Linked DNA regions of Homo sapiens: region 2 is linked to region 1. The links are contacts of gene promoters, found by promoter capture Hi-C in human tissues and cell types (Jung and others, 2019). All regions are on one chromosome and are shown on one strand. Each heading gives the region's core, a stretch centred on a gene start or on the middle of the fragment in contact. The rest is flanking DNA. Distances are from core to core; before and after follow the strand shown. Region 1 holds the start of DHRS4 (dehydrogenase/reductase 4). Region 2 has its middle 28 kb from the start of JPH4.

Evidence for each region. The method cuts DNA at HindIII sites, captures the fragments that hold promoters and counts their contacts. A contact is called where the count stands out against the background at its distance.
Region 2: a fragment that was not itself captured here is called in contact with the fragment with the promoter of DHRS4 in region 1 in 2 of the 25 tissues and cell types used here (H1 embryonic stem cells and lymphoblastoid cells).

What each region holds. Positions count from the first base shown.
Region 1 is chr14:23,950,458-23,956,056 of GRCh38, forward strand. It overlaps DHRS4 (dehydrogenase/reductase 4), which reads left to right and starts at 3,313. Exons shown (of 8, transcript NM_021004.4): 1 at 3,313-3,459; 2 at 4,578-4,755. The coding sequence starts at 3,332. DHRS4-AS1 (DHRS4 antisense RNA 1) reads right to left here and starts at 4,655. Exons shown (of 2, transcript NR_023922.2): 1 at 4,291-4,655. RefSeq lists enhancers at 2,835-3,034, 3,645-3,774, 3,825-3,954. The HindIII fragment of the contact is 7,990 bases long and covers 1-5,599 here.
Region 2 is chr14:23,604,439-23,610,092 of GRCh38, forward strand. No RefSeq gene overlaps it. Among named protein-coding and RNA genes, the nearest start is that of JPH4, 28 kb to the left of the region's middle. RefSeq lists an enhancer at 1,751-1,960. The HindIII fragment of the contact is 3,253 bases long and covers 2,524-5,654 here.

The sequences.
Region 1 (5,599 bases), core at 2,063-4,562:
AGGAGGCTCCTTGCTTCTAGTGAAGAAGGGCCCTGAGCTTCTATAGCCCTTTGTATTTATTGAGTAAAGGAGATAGGGAGAAGGGGGTAGTTGTCAGTCAGCTGCTTGGCTTAGTGCAGGCTTGCATGACTGCATTCTTTGAACAGTAGTCTCCAGATGTTCCTGTAGATAACCTCAAGGAGCACAGCACCAGGGAGTCATTGCCCTCAGCAAACCTTCTGGTAGCAGGCGCAGAAGTGAGTTTGCCCACATTCTGCATTCATGATAAACAGTTTGCTGTTAGATCATACAGCCTTCAGTGGAATGCTGAGTTGGTCACGACCCTCAGGCCTTTGGCTCCCTACATTAAAACACCCATTTCACCAGACTAAAAATATTCAATAAAATTTATAAAAAGCACTTAACGCTTGCCAGCATTTAGTAAGGAAGTGCTCAATAAATACTGTTAACACTCTTACTATTACTTTCTCTGCTTGGTAGTTGTCCTAACCCCACACCAGCCCTCCCACATTGCCTAATTCTGACTTGTGTCAGTGATGCAGGACTCGACTCAATCTAGGACAGCTATTGCAAAACGCAAGACTTAAATTCCACCCCAGGTGAAATCTCTTCTGGACCGCAGGCAGCCCTTGAAAAGGATGGGAGTAGTGCCCTCACTCATGAAGGCATTTGTCCCTCAAGATAGGCAGATGTTACCACCTCCATGTAAGAACAATCCCATTGCCTGTTACAGTTCCCATTTCAAAGAGATACTCCCACATATGCATGTATTTCCCTGAAAGATTTCCCGTTATTTATTTATTTATTTATTTATTTATTTATTTATTTATTTAGATGGAGTCTTTCATTCTGCTGCCCAGGCTGGAGTGCAATGGCATGATTTTGGCTCACTGCAACCTCTGCCTCCCACGTTCAAGCAATTCTCCTGCCACAGCCTCCTGAGTAGCTGGGATTACAGGCACATGCCACCAGGCCCGGCTGGTTTTTGTATTTTTAGTAGAGATGAGGTTTCACCATGTTGGCCAGGCTGATCTCGAACTTCTGACCACGCCCAGCTAATTTTCGTATTGTTAGTAAAGAGGATTACAGGTGTGAGCCACCATGCCCAGCCCAAGATTTCCTGTTCTTATCTCCAATAAGCGAGCTTGATGAGGAGTAGTGCTAGAGAGTCCCATACTTCTTGACTTCCTTCCATCCTTTTCTGCTCACAGGCCCCCTCCCTAATGTCCCCTGTGCTCTCCACAAAAGAAATAGTGCTAGAGGCCAAATAGCAACCCTGCCCACACAAGGAAGGGCCATGTAATGTTCACCAAGCACCCAAGCCACAATTCTCTCTTCCCAGAATCCTTTGCTCTTTGAAGTGTAGTCTTCCTCACCTTCCTGCCAACCTCAGCCCCTGAGTCCACCTGTCTACCTCTGAAGAGAAGGGAAAGAGAGATCAAACGCCCCCTGCAGGCCTGTCCCTTTGAACCAAGCCCTGAGAACCCCCGCAGCCGTCCTCCTGTGTACCCTCCCCCAGCCGCACACACAGATGGAGAGCCCTGGGAAGGGTTCCCACAGTGCGTTAGCTCCAAACAGTGCAAGAGGACAAGCAGTGTGGCGCTTCCAGCCTCTGTCAATAATTCATGAGGCTCAGACTGAGGAGCACCAGTCAGAGTCAGCCTTCCCTGGACATGGGGAAAATTATACTGAAGCTCTCCTGTCTCATCGGGATCTGCTGAGTAGCAAAGCAGAGTATTGCAGCTGTAACTTCTTGGCTGAGGAAAACACTAGAATTCCAGTGCAGGCCGTTCTATTACTTGCTCACCATACACCCCCTTTTGAATGTTGAAACCCTTTTTCAGCTGCTCAGCTTACCTGCACATATACTAAATGAATCTTGAGCAAACATGAATTCTATTCAAAAGTCATGCCTAGAACTGGATTTCACAAACCAGGATTCTTTCCCCTTTAATTGTAGGGACTGGCATAAGGCTGCCAAACTGGTGATTTCACCAATAACACATCTCTAAACCTACCCATCTGCTTTCATCATCTTTTCTAAAAGAAAACACTAACACACACACACACACACAAAAAGAAGCAAACGTATACTCCACAATAAAGGACTGTTAAATAAGCTTAGCTTTATGAAACTCACTGTAATTGTTTCCTTTTCTCATTTTGCCTTGAACTAGTGAAAACGCTGCCATGAACCAGCACTGCTTCTCAGTCTGGCTTTGGAGGCCAGTGGGTTAAACCAATTCAGATGCTTGCATTTGGGTCTGTTGGGGCCTTTCTACACTGTACCATAAGCCATCCAGATTTCTTCATTCTCCCGGAAACCCAGGAGGGAGATCATTTCAGCCCACTTGGCAGAAGTGCAGACTGAAGTCTTGGACACAGAATTTATAGCTGGCAAGGACTTTATTCATCATCCATACCCTCAGTAATTTACAGATGAAGAGTCTGGCCCAGGGCACCAATAATAATCACTACATGGTGGCAGTAACTACTATGTGCTTAGTAGCTTACAGTTCATAAAGAGATTTTGCATTCAACAAATATTTATTGAACTAAGATGGCGGCTAAGACCTGGGGACAGAGTGGTTAGGGAGAACTTGAGTGCCCCGAGTTCTTTGCATTTCCACCACTGCTTGAGGGACTGTCCAGCCTCCTCGCTACCACTTAGCCCCTGTAAAGGAGGAAGTCCCTTTGTCAACGGACATGAGAATGCTGTTTGGCCAATGACCATAGTCTGCCCTCCAGGGCCCGTGAAGATGGAAGAGACCTTGGGCAGAGTGAAGGGCAGTGCCAGGCCTGGCGCAGCTACTCCCTATCACGTCTCTCTCCCAGGCTCTTCCAGCCTCACCTGGTGGACTCCATGGCGACCACAGGCCTCACCTCCATGGGCAGTCTCAAAACATTTGCCCTCCTGTGGGCTGTCACACACATAGACCCAGACTTTCTTGGAGAAGGAATTCTGAAGAAGCAAAAGCAACCAACTCAAAACCCCCACTTCCCAGAGAAGAAAAGGTGGGCAAGCAGATGCAGAAAGGCAGCAGCCAAAGCCTGCGGGTTCCTGCAAGGGCCAGGGGAGGGGCGAGCCCTACAGGCAACTTGAACGGAGAGCTCACCCGCCAGCCCGGAAAGGCAAGCCCCAGTCAGGCGGAAGGTAGATGGTGGAGGGGCGCCGCGGCGGATGGAGGTGCCCAGGGCCACAGACCGCTCACAGCGGTACCGGGGCGGGGAGCAGGGCGGGCAGGGAATCGGCCCGCCCTTCGTCCTGCCCCTCGCCCTACTCTGTCACCGCCCCTGGGAAGAGTGGAACCCATACTTGCTGGTCTGATCCATGCACAAGGCGGGGCTGCTAGGCCTCTGTGCCCGGGCTTGGAATTCGGTGCGGATGGCCAGCTCCGGGATGACCCGCCGGGACCCGCTCGCAAATAAGGTGGCCCTGGTAACGGCCTCCACCGACGGGTGAGTGCTCCGGCCGGAGTTTCTGAGGCCCTGGCTGCCTGGAAACAGGCACTGGCCTCTCATCCTCGGCCTCCGGTGCCCCTGTCCTCAGACCTTACACGCTGCCAAAGTCTGGCCCTGGAAAAAAGGTAGCCACGTGGTCCGCCTGAAGCCACTCCGAATCCCCTAGCCCTGGACCCTCCCTTGCCAGCCCTCCTGTCCCTGCTACCTCTGGCACAACTGTGCCACCTCTGTGCAGCCCTATCGATCTAGTCTCCCCAGTGTTCTGGGCTGCCCCAGTCAACCAGCGCCACCTAGCGTCTGGGAAGACCAGAAACTGGAAATCCAAGGAAATCTGGATTTCAAAATACTATCCCACGGCCTCCAGCACTTTGAAAATGTACCAGACATTCTATTTGGGCACCGGAAAGTCCCCCGGAACCCCTCCCCCTTACCTAGATGGGACACCAGAGCCATATGTCGAGATTTTTGTTTAGGTCGGTACATCTGGGCCGACCTTGCCCAGCCTGTTTCTCACCCACCATTCTTGTCTATCCTGGTCCTCATTTCTACAGGACTTTGCTAGATGCCAGCTCTTCACAAAACTAAAATACAAATGTAGGTAAAATGCTAATAGCTGACAAATGCAAAATGTGTAACTCTTCCTCCCAAGGCAATATTTACATTTTTGACCGGAGACCATCTTTTCACATGCACCCCAAAAAATAACTAAGGATAGAATTTTGAGAATGATGTAGACGAGTAAGAAAGAAACCTGGGGGCAGGGCTGTTCTGAGTGAGACCCTCAAATCACGGAAGTGGCTGCTGCTGCAAACCCAGCTCATTTCTCACCTCTCAGTCCCAAGAGGGGATGAAGCCTGTCACCCATGGTGGGAACTGTAGAAAGTGATGTCAGTTCTTGGGAACTGAGGCTGTGGTCCAGGTCATAATAAAAACAAGTAAAGGAATGCCAAAAATGGCCATGCCATTAAGCCTGTTTTACACATAGTAGGCACACGTAGGGGTTATATAGAGAAAGAGCCAGAATTCAAACCCGGGCAGTCTTAACTTCAGAGCTCATACTGTCGACCTCTTCCCCTGCACAGGCCTTAGCAGTCTTTGTCTCTTTCTGCTCACAGGATCGGCTTCGCCATCGCCCGGCGTTTGGCCCAGGACGGGGCCCATGTGGTCGTCAGCAGCCGGAAGCAGCAGAATGTGGACCAGGCGGTGGCCACGCTGCAGGGGGAGGGGCTGAGCGTGACGGGCACCGTGTGCCATGTGGGGAAGGCGGAGGACCGGGAGCGGCTGGTGGCCACGGTGAGCTGCAGGGAAATGGGCACAGAGCCAGGAGGTGGAAAACGGAGCCAGCCTGAGCCTCCTTCCCTGCTTTCCTAGACAGCAGCACATTTTTACTGTGTGCCTTTCTATTATGTCCATATACTAACGTCAGAGAATCATCCCATCTCAGTCAGAGAATTTTAAAACATTCTAATGCTTCAACCCTGCATCATCCCTTGAGTACCCCAAAGAAACAGCTGGTACTGGTTCTGCAGTAATTTTCAATCTAATTGAACAGATGTGAAGGGTAAATACAATCACAAAATACATGTTCCCACCCATGAGTTAATAAACATTCCCCTCTTCTTCAGCTTATAGAGTCAAGTCCCTGGGAACCTCAGGAAGCAGCCCACCATGTTTCAGCCACTTACTATGTGCCATTTCCTGTGTTCAGAGCCTTACACAGGTTATCTCTAGACCTGACAACAACCCAAGCAAGGCAAGGACTATTCTCTCAGTCTGCAGACCCTGGCTCAGATAGCTGGAGCAACTTCCCAAGGTCCCACAGCCAGTAAGGAAAGACCCAGACCTCCCAGGCTCCCTTCCTTTATTGGCTGCCTGTGGACTACCGGGTACTGGACTTTAGTCTCAAAGAAAGTATATAAGTCGATGTCAGAATTAGTAGTGGACACCAGCCTTGCAGCTGCTGAAGCAAATATGAAGCATTCACAAAGGAAGCTCCTCTTCCCTTGAGGCTCACGGCATACACTTTATTTCCCAGAGTGGAAGGGAGAATCTACCCAAAAATGGAAAGTACAGGATTCTGCTAACAGATTGGAAGGTTGGCAGAAATAATTTGCATAATCTTAGAAGAGGAGGATCT
Region 2 (5,654 bases), core at 2,900-5,399, 350 kb before region 1:
ACTAGAGGTCACTCTCATTGCTATCTTGGTTTTGGTTGGTTTTGGCTGGCTTCTTTTTTTTTTTTTTGAGATGGAGTTTTGCTTTTGTCACCCAGGCTGGAGTGCAATGGCACGATCTTGGCCCACTGCAACCTCTGCCTTCTGAGTTCAAGCGATTCTCCCGCCTCAGCCACCCGAGTACCTGGGATTACAGGTGTGCACCATCATGCCCGGCTAATTTTTGTATTTTTAGTAGAGATACAGTTTCACCATGTTGGCCAGGCTGATCTCAAACTCCTGACCTCAGGTGATCCATCCGCCTCGGCCTCCCAAAGTACTGGGATTAGAGGTGTGAGCCACTGTGCCCAGCCTGGCTGGCTGCTTTAGTGCATCCCGTTTTATCAGCAAGGTCTTTGTGACCTGTATCTTGTGCTGAACTTCTATGTCATTCTGTCACTAAGAATGACTTAACCTCCTGGGAATGCACCCCAGTAGGTCCCAGCCTTATTTTACCCAGCCCCTATTCAAGATGGAATTGCTCTGCTTCAAACACCTCTGATAATACCTCACAGGTTGTTAAGATAATTATGTGGGAAAGTACCTGAGGATGTGCACCACCAGGACTGGTCTAGGAGTTCTTGGACCTGGCCTCCCTTCATTCCTTTCCTCTAGCTCCAGGGAGTTGGTGGTTATGGAGCTACTATGTGGCTCTCTGGCAAAGTTTCTGGGCTCAGAGCCTCAATCCCCAAGCACTGTGGCCTCTCAGAGCCTTTGGCTTGGTGCTTCCAGTCCCCAGTACTCTCCCTGGGGCTCTGGGGTAGGAGGCTGAATGCCAGGCCAGAGACCCCTTTGAGTCCTCATGGCTGGCATCTCCAGGCTGGGGAAGATGGAGAGGGTGCTTGTTTCCCGATCTTTGCAGAGTGGAAACTGGCTCAAGTCCCACACCCTGACTCAGCCACCCAATGTCTTCTGCTTCAAGGTTTCATTCTTTCTGGATGCCATTACCTGTCAGGAAAGGGGACAGGGATTGGCTATAGGTACTTCAAGCTTAAGCCTTGCATTGATTCACATAGGGCCTTAGCTTGCCAGAAAAAAAGGGCCCTGCTTAGAGGTGAATGTACAGGTGTTGAAGATGACATATCGACTCCCTGCACAATTCTGCCAACCCTAGCCCTGATTGTCTTCACTTGTCTACACACAGAGGCTAGGTTGTCAGTCCTGACCCAACTGAAACCAGTGATTCTTGACAGTAGAGAAGATCTTTTCTCTGGCAGGGCATATATTCCAATAGAGCTTCATAAATAGGAAAATCCACCAAGAGTACAATTATAAGAGGTGGAGAAAAGCCCACAGTTAGAGGATAAACTTGAAGGGGCCAACAAGAGAGATTTGTGCCAACAGCAGACATAGCTGTCTAGATACAATTAACAAAGGATTTGAGCTCCAAGCACTTATCAGAGACTCTCCCATGGCACTGCTCATTAAGTTTTATACATGGTAGTTGCTGACCGAATGACAGCACAAAAGACACAGACGGAAGGAAAAACACTGGGAGGAAGTGCTTGTGGAGGGAGACAGGCCTGTGTACAGCCTAGACTGTGGGACAGGTGGGAAGCATTGCAAACAGAAGGCATGGCAGGAAGCCCACTTATGCTGAACACGCACAAAGTCAGTGTCCCAGTCTTTGCGTGTCCCATGGCTATACCAACACATCCCAGGGTTGTCTGCCTTTTGAGTTTTCCCCGTGGCATGACACTCCTAATTCATGTTTAGGTTGTGGCCAACTCTGACTCACAGCTTTTCTTCTATTATTCTTGTACTCAGCCACTTGAGCACCAACCTACACTTGTGGGATATGACTTTCTAGCTCTATTTTTAGAAGAGTAACATCATTCTGAGAATGGAGGGGTCATCTTGCAGTTTCTTCTCCCCATAGTTGTCATGGTCAATCTTTTACATGAAAATTAGATGTGTCACTTCTGTGTTCAAACCCACTGCTCAGAGTAACAGCTAAGTCCTCATCGTGACTCAAAGCCTAACCCTCTCTGAGTTAGTTCCTATCCCTCTCTTTCAGCCTATTTACTCCAGGTACACTAAGCCTCCTTGCTGTCCCTCGAACTATGCCAAACACTCTCCTACCTCCTGCTTCTGCCTTGGTTTTTCCCACTGCCTGGAACATTCTTCACTCTCACTTATTTAAGCCTCTGCTCACTTGTCAACTCTTCAGAGAGGCCATCCTGATATGGGCCAGAGAAAAAAATCACTCACATCCTGCACTCCCTGTCCCCCTCACCTTGTTGTATTTTTCTTCAGAGCACTTCTCAGCACCTGCCATTTTTATGTCTACTTGTTTATTACCTGTCTCTCCCACAAGAATATAAGCACCTTGAAGGCATTTTTTTAACTCACTGCTGTATCAATACCACCTAGAGTAGTGCCTAGCACACAGGTGGTGGTGAATAAATATTTGCTGGATTAATTAATGTCATGAAGACGTTTAAAACACCCACAATCCTCTGTGCTCACAAGACAGCTCTTGGAGGGGCATCCCTGGTAATTCACCTGTGCTTGCTTACCCACAAGAATATCTGCAGGAGCAGGGAACTTCAGCCAGTGCCCAGGTGTGTTCTGTAATCAGAGGCAGGGCCAGGAAAGTGCAGTGTAGGGAGGGAGAGAGTCAGGAGGGAAGGTGGCTACCCCCGGGTTCCATGTGTTTGCCAACTGGGAGGATTGACAGTCCTGACACGGGCAGAGCCATCTCCATGCTTCTCTCCTGCATCACAAGGGACTGCCTCAGACCCTGCCTCTCACAAACTCTCACAAGAGGAGGCTGTGTCTTGTCTGCCTCCAGCTCCCGGGCCCCTGCCACCCCCTGAGGATGACTTCTGGAAGTTCCTCAGCTCATCACCCTCTTCGCAGGCATCCTCTTCACCTCTCAGCAGTGGCAACTGCTGCTCCCCAGGACCTTCTTCCTGAGCTTCTTTTCCCTTCAGTGTGGGGACACTCCTAATTTGCCTCTTCAGTCTTTGACTTCTCCCTTTTGGCTTCCTTTTCTTCTTCCCCTCCCTAAAATGGAAGGATTTCTGTGTCAGTCAGAGTCCAAGCAGGAAAACGATTCCATGCAAGGCATTTCTTACAGAAGGGATGTATTCAGGGAATTGACTACTCCAGTGTTGGAGGGTTGGAAGGGCAAATGGAGATGCTGCAGTGACCAGATATGGTAACTACAGGAGTTCCTTCTCAGGGCTGGAGGGACAGAAGAGAAGAAGTGGGGCCACCAGAGCCTCCAGGCTCAGCCTTGCCTGGCCCATGTTCAGACCACAGAATGAGGATGCATTGTGATGGGGTTGAGCCTCTGGGGCGCTGGTATCTCCAGGAGGTGCAGTTCACCTGCTGCCAGGAGTGTCTGAAGAATTGGGAGCTAGCACGGGCAACCTATTGCCCATAGGCCAAATCCAGCTGCCACCTGTTTCTCCATGGCCCACGAGCTAAGAATGTTCTTCACATTTTGGCCAGGCACGGGGCTCACGCCTGTAATCCCAGCACTTTGGGAGGCCGAGGCGGGTGGATGGTCTGAGGTCAGGAATTCGAGACCGGTCTGGCCAATGTGGCAAAATCCTGTTTCTACTAAAAATACAAAAAAAAAAAAAAATTAGCCAGTCATGGTGGTGCACACTTGTAGTCCCAGCTACTTGGGAAGCTGAGGCAGGAGAGTTGCTTGAACCCGGGAGGCAGAGGTTGCAGTGAGACGAGATTGCGCCACTCCACTCCAGACTGGGTGACAGAGCAAGAGTTCATCTCAAAAAACAAGCAAACAAAAAAAGAATATTCTTCATATTTTAAAAATGGCTGAAAATAAAACCGAAAAGGAAGATATATCTCATGGCACATGAAAATTATAAAACACTCAAACTCCAGTGTCCATGAATAAAGTTTTATTGCAATGTGGTCATCCTTATTCATTTATATATTGTTTATGTCTGCTCTTGCAGTACAATGGCAGAGTTGAGGAGTTATAACAGAGACCATATGGCCTGCAAAGCTTAAACTACTTCATGTCCAGCTCTTTACAGAAAAAGTTTGCTAAGCCCTAGGCTAGAGTCCTCCTGGAGGGACATTGACAGGAGCTGGAAACAGGAGGAAAACCCTTCTCTCACCCTATGTCCTTCAGCCACGTCTCAGTGCCTCTTAGTAGCAGAATTGAATAGGAAGCCAGCTGGCAAGAGAGAGTCTGGGAAAGGCTGTTGGCAGTCCCTTGGCCCTCACACCACAGGGGAGGGTGGCATGGGCCCAAGAGGCAACAGGCAAACAGCACAACTTACAAGTATCTTATACTGGCCTTTTCCTCTTCTGTCTCTGCCCTCCCTCCCTTAGTAATCCTATCCACAGTCATGGCTTCTATCACATCTCTGTAGACAATGCACACATCCATGGCTCCATGCTTGAATTCTGTTATCAGTCTTGCATTTCTAACTGCCTTCTTGACAACTCCATTTAGAAGGCTTCCCTTCATCTCAAAGTCACCATGTCAATAGGTAGAATTCATATTTTCTATCAAGCTTGTTTCTTCTCCTCTGTTACCTATTTTTGTTGGCAATGCCACCATTGTCCCTGGCTTCATGTTTGGATCCTCTCTGTCTCTTTTCTCTCGTGTCAAAGCATTTAGAAAGACCAGATCTTTCTCTGTAAGACTTCGCAACTATTCTCTACTTTCCCTTCCCAGCACCATCACCTGGGGTTGTGCCACCATTACCTCTTGCCTGGATTATAGATATGACCTCATAATGGGTATTACCCTACACAAGTTTCATTCCAATTCCTCTCACACATAGTTGCCAGATTAATCTTCTGAATCATCAGATTCAAAGTCCTTTTGGTTTCCCTTTGTTTATGCATTGGCCAGAAATTCAAAATTTTATACAGTTCTGTATTAGTTCATTTTCACGCTGCTGATAAAACATACCCAAGACTGGGTGATTTATAAAGAAAAAGAGGTTTAATGGACTCACAGTTCCATATGGCTGGGGAGGCCTCACAGTCATGGCAGAAGACCAAGGAAGAGCAAAGGGACTTCTTACATGGTGGCAGGCAAGATAGAGAGCCATGCAAAAGGGGAAGCCCCTTATAAAAACATCAGATCTCGTGAGACTTATTCACTATCATGAGAACAGTATGGGGACATAGCCAAACCATGTCATTCTACTCCTGCGGTTTTGCAAGGTACAAAGTCCCTCCCGGCTGCTTTTATGGGCTGGTGTTGAGTGTCTGCGGCTTTTCCAGGTGCATGGTGCAAGCTGTTGGTGGATCTACCATTCTAGGGTCTGGAGGATGGTGCTCCACTAGGCAGTGCCCCAGTGGGGACTTTGTGTGGGGGCTTCAACCCTACATTTCCAGGCCCCGACTGCTGTGTATGGAAATGCCTGGATGTCCAGGCAGAAGTTTGCTGCAGGGGCAGGGCCCTCATGGAGAGCCTCTGCTAGGGCAGTGCAGAAGCGAGATGTGGGGAGGTACAATTCAAGATGAGTTTTGGGTGGGGACGCAGCCAAACCATATCAAGTCCCAGTGACTACAGTTTGGTTTTCCAAATTTGTTTCCTATTTCTTTCTTTCCTGTCCTCTTCCTTTCCAATACTTTCATATAGCCTCTTGTTCCTTCAGGTTCTGTGCACTTTATTT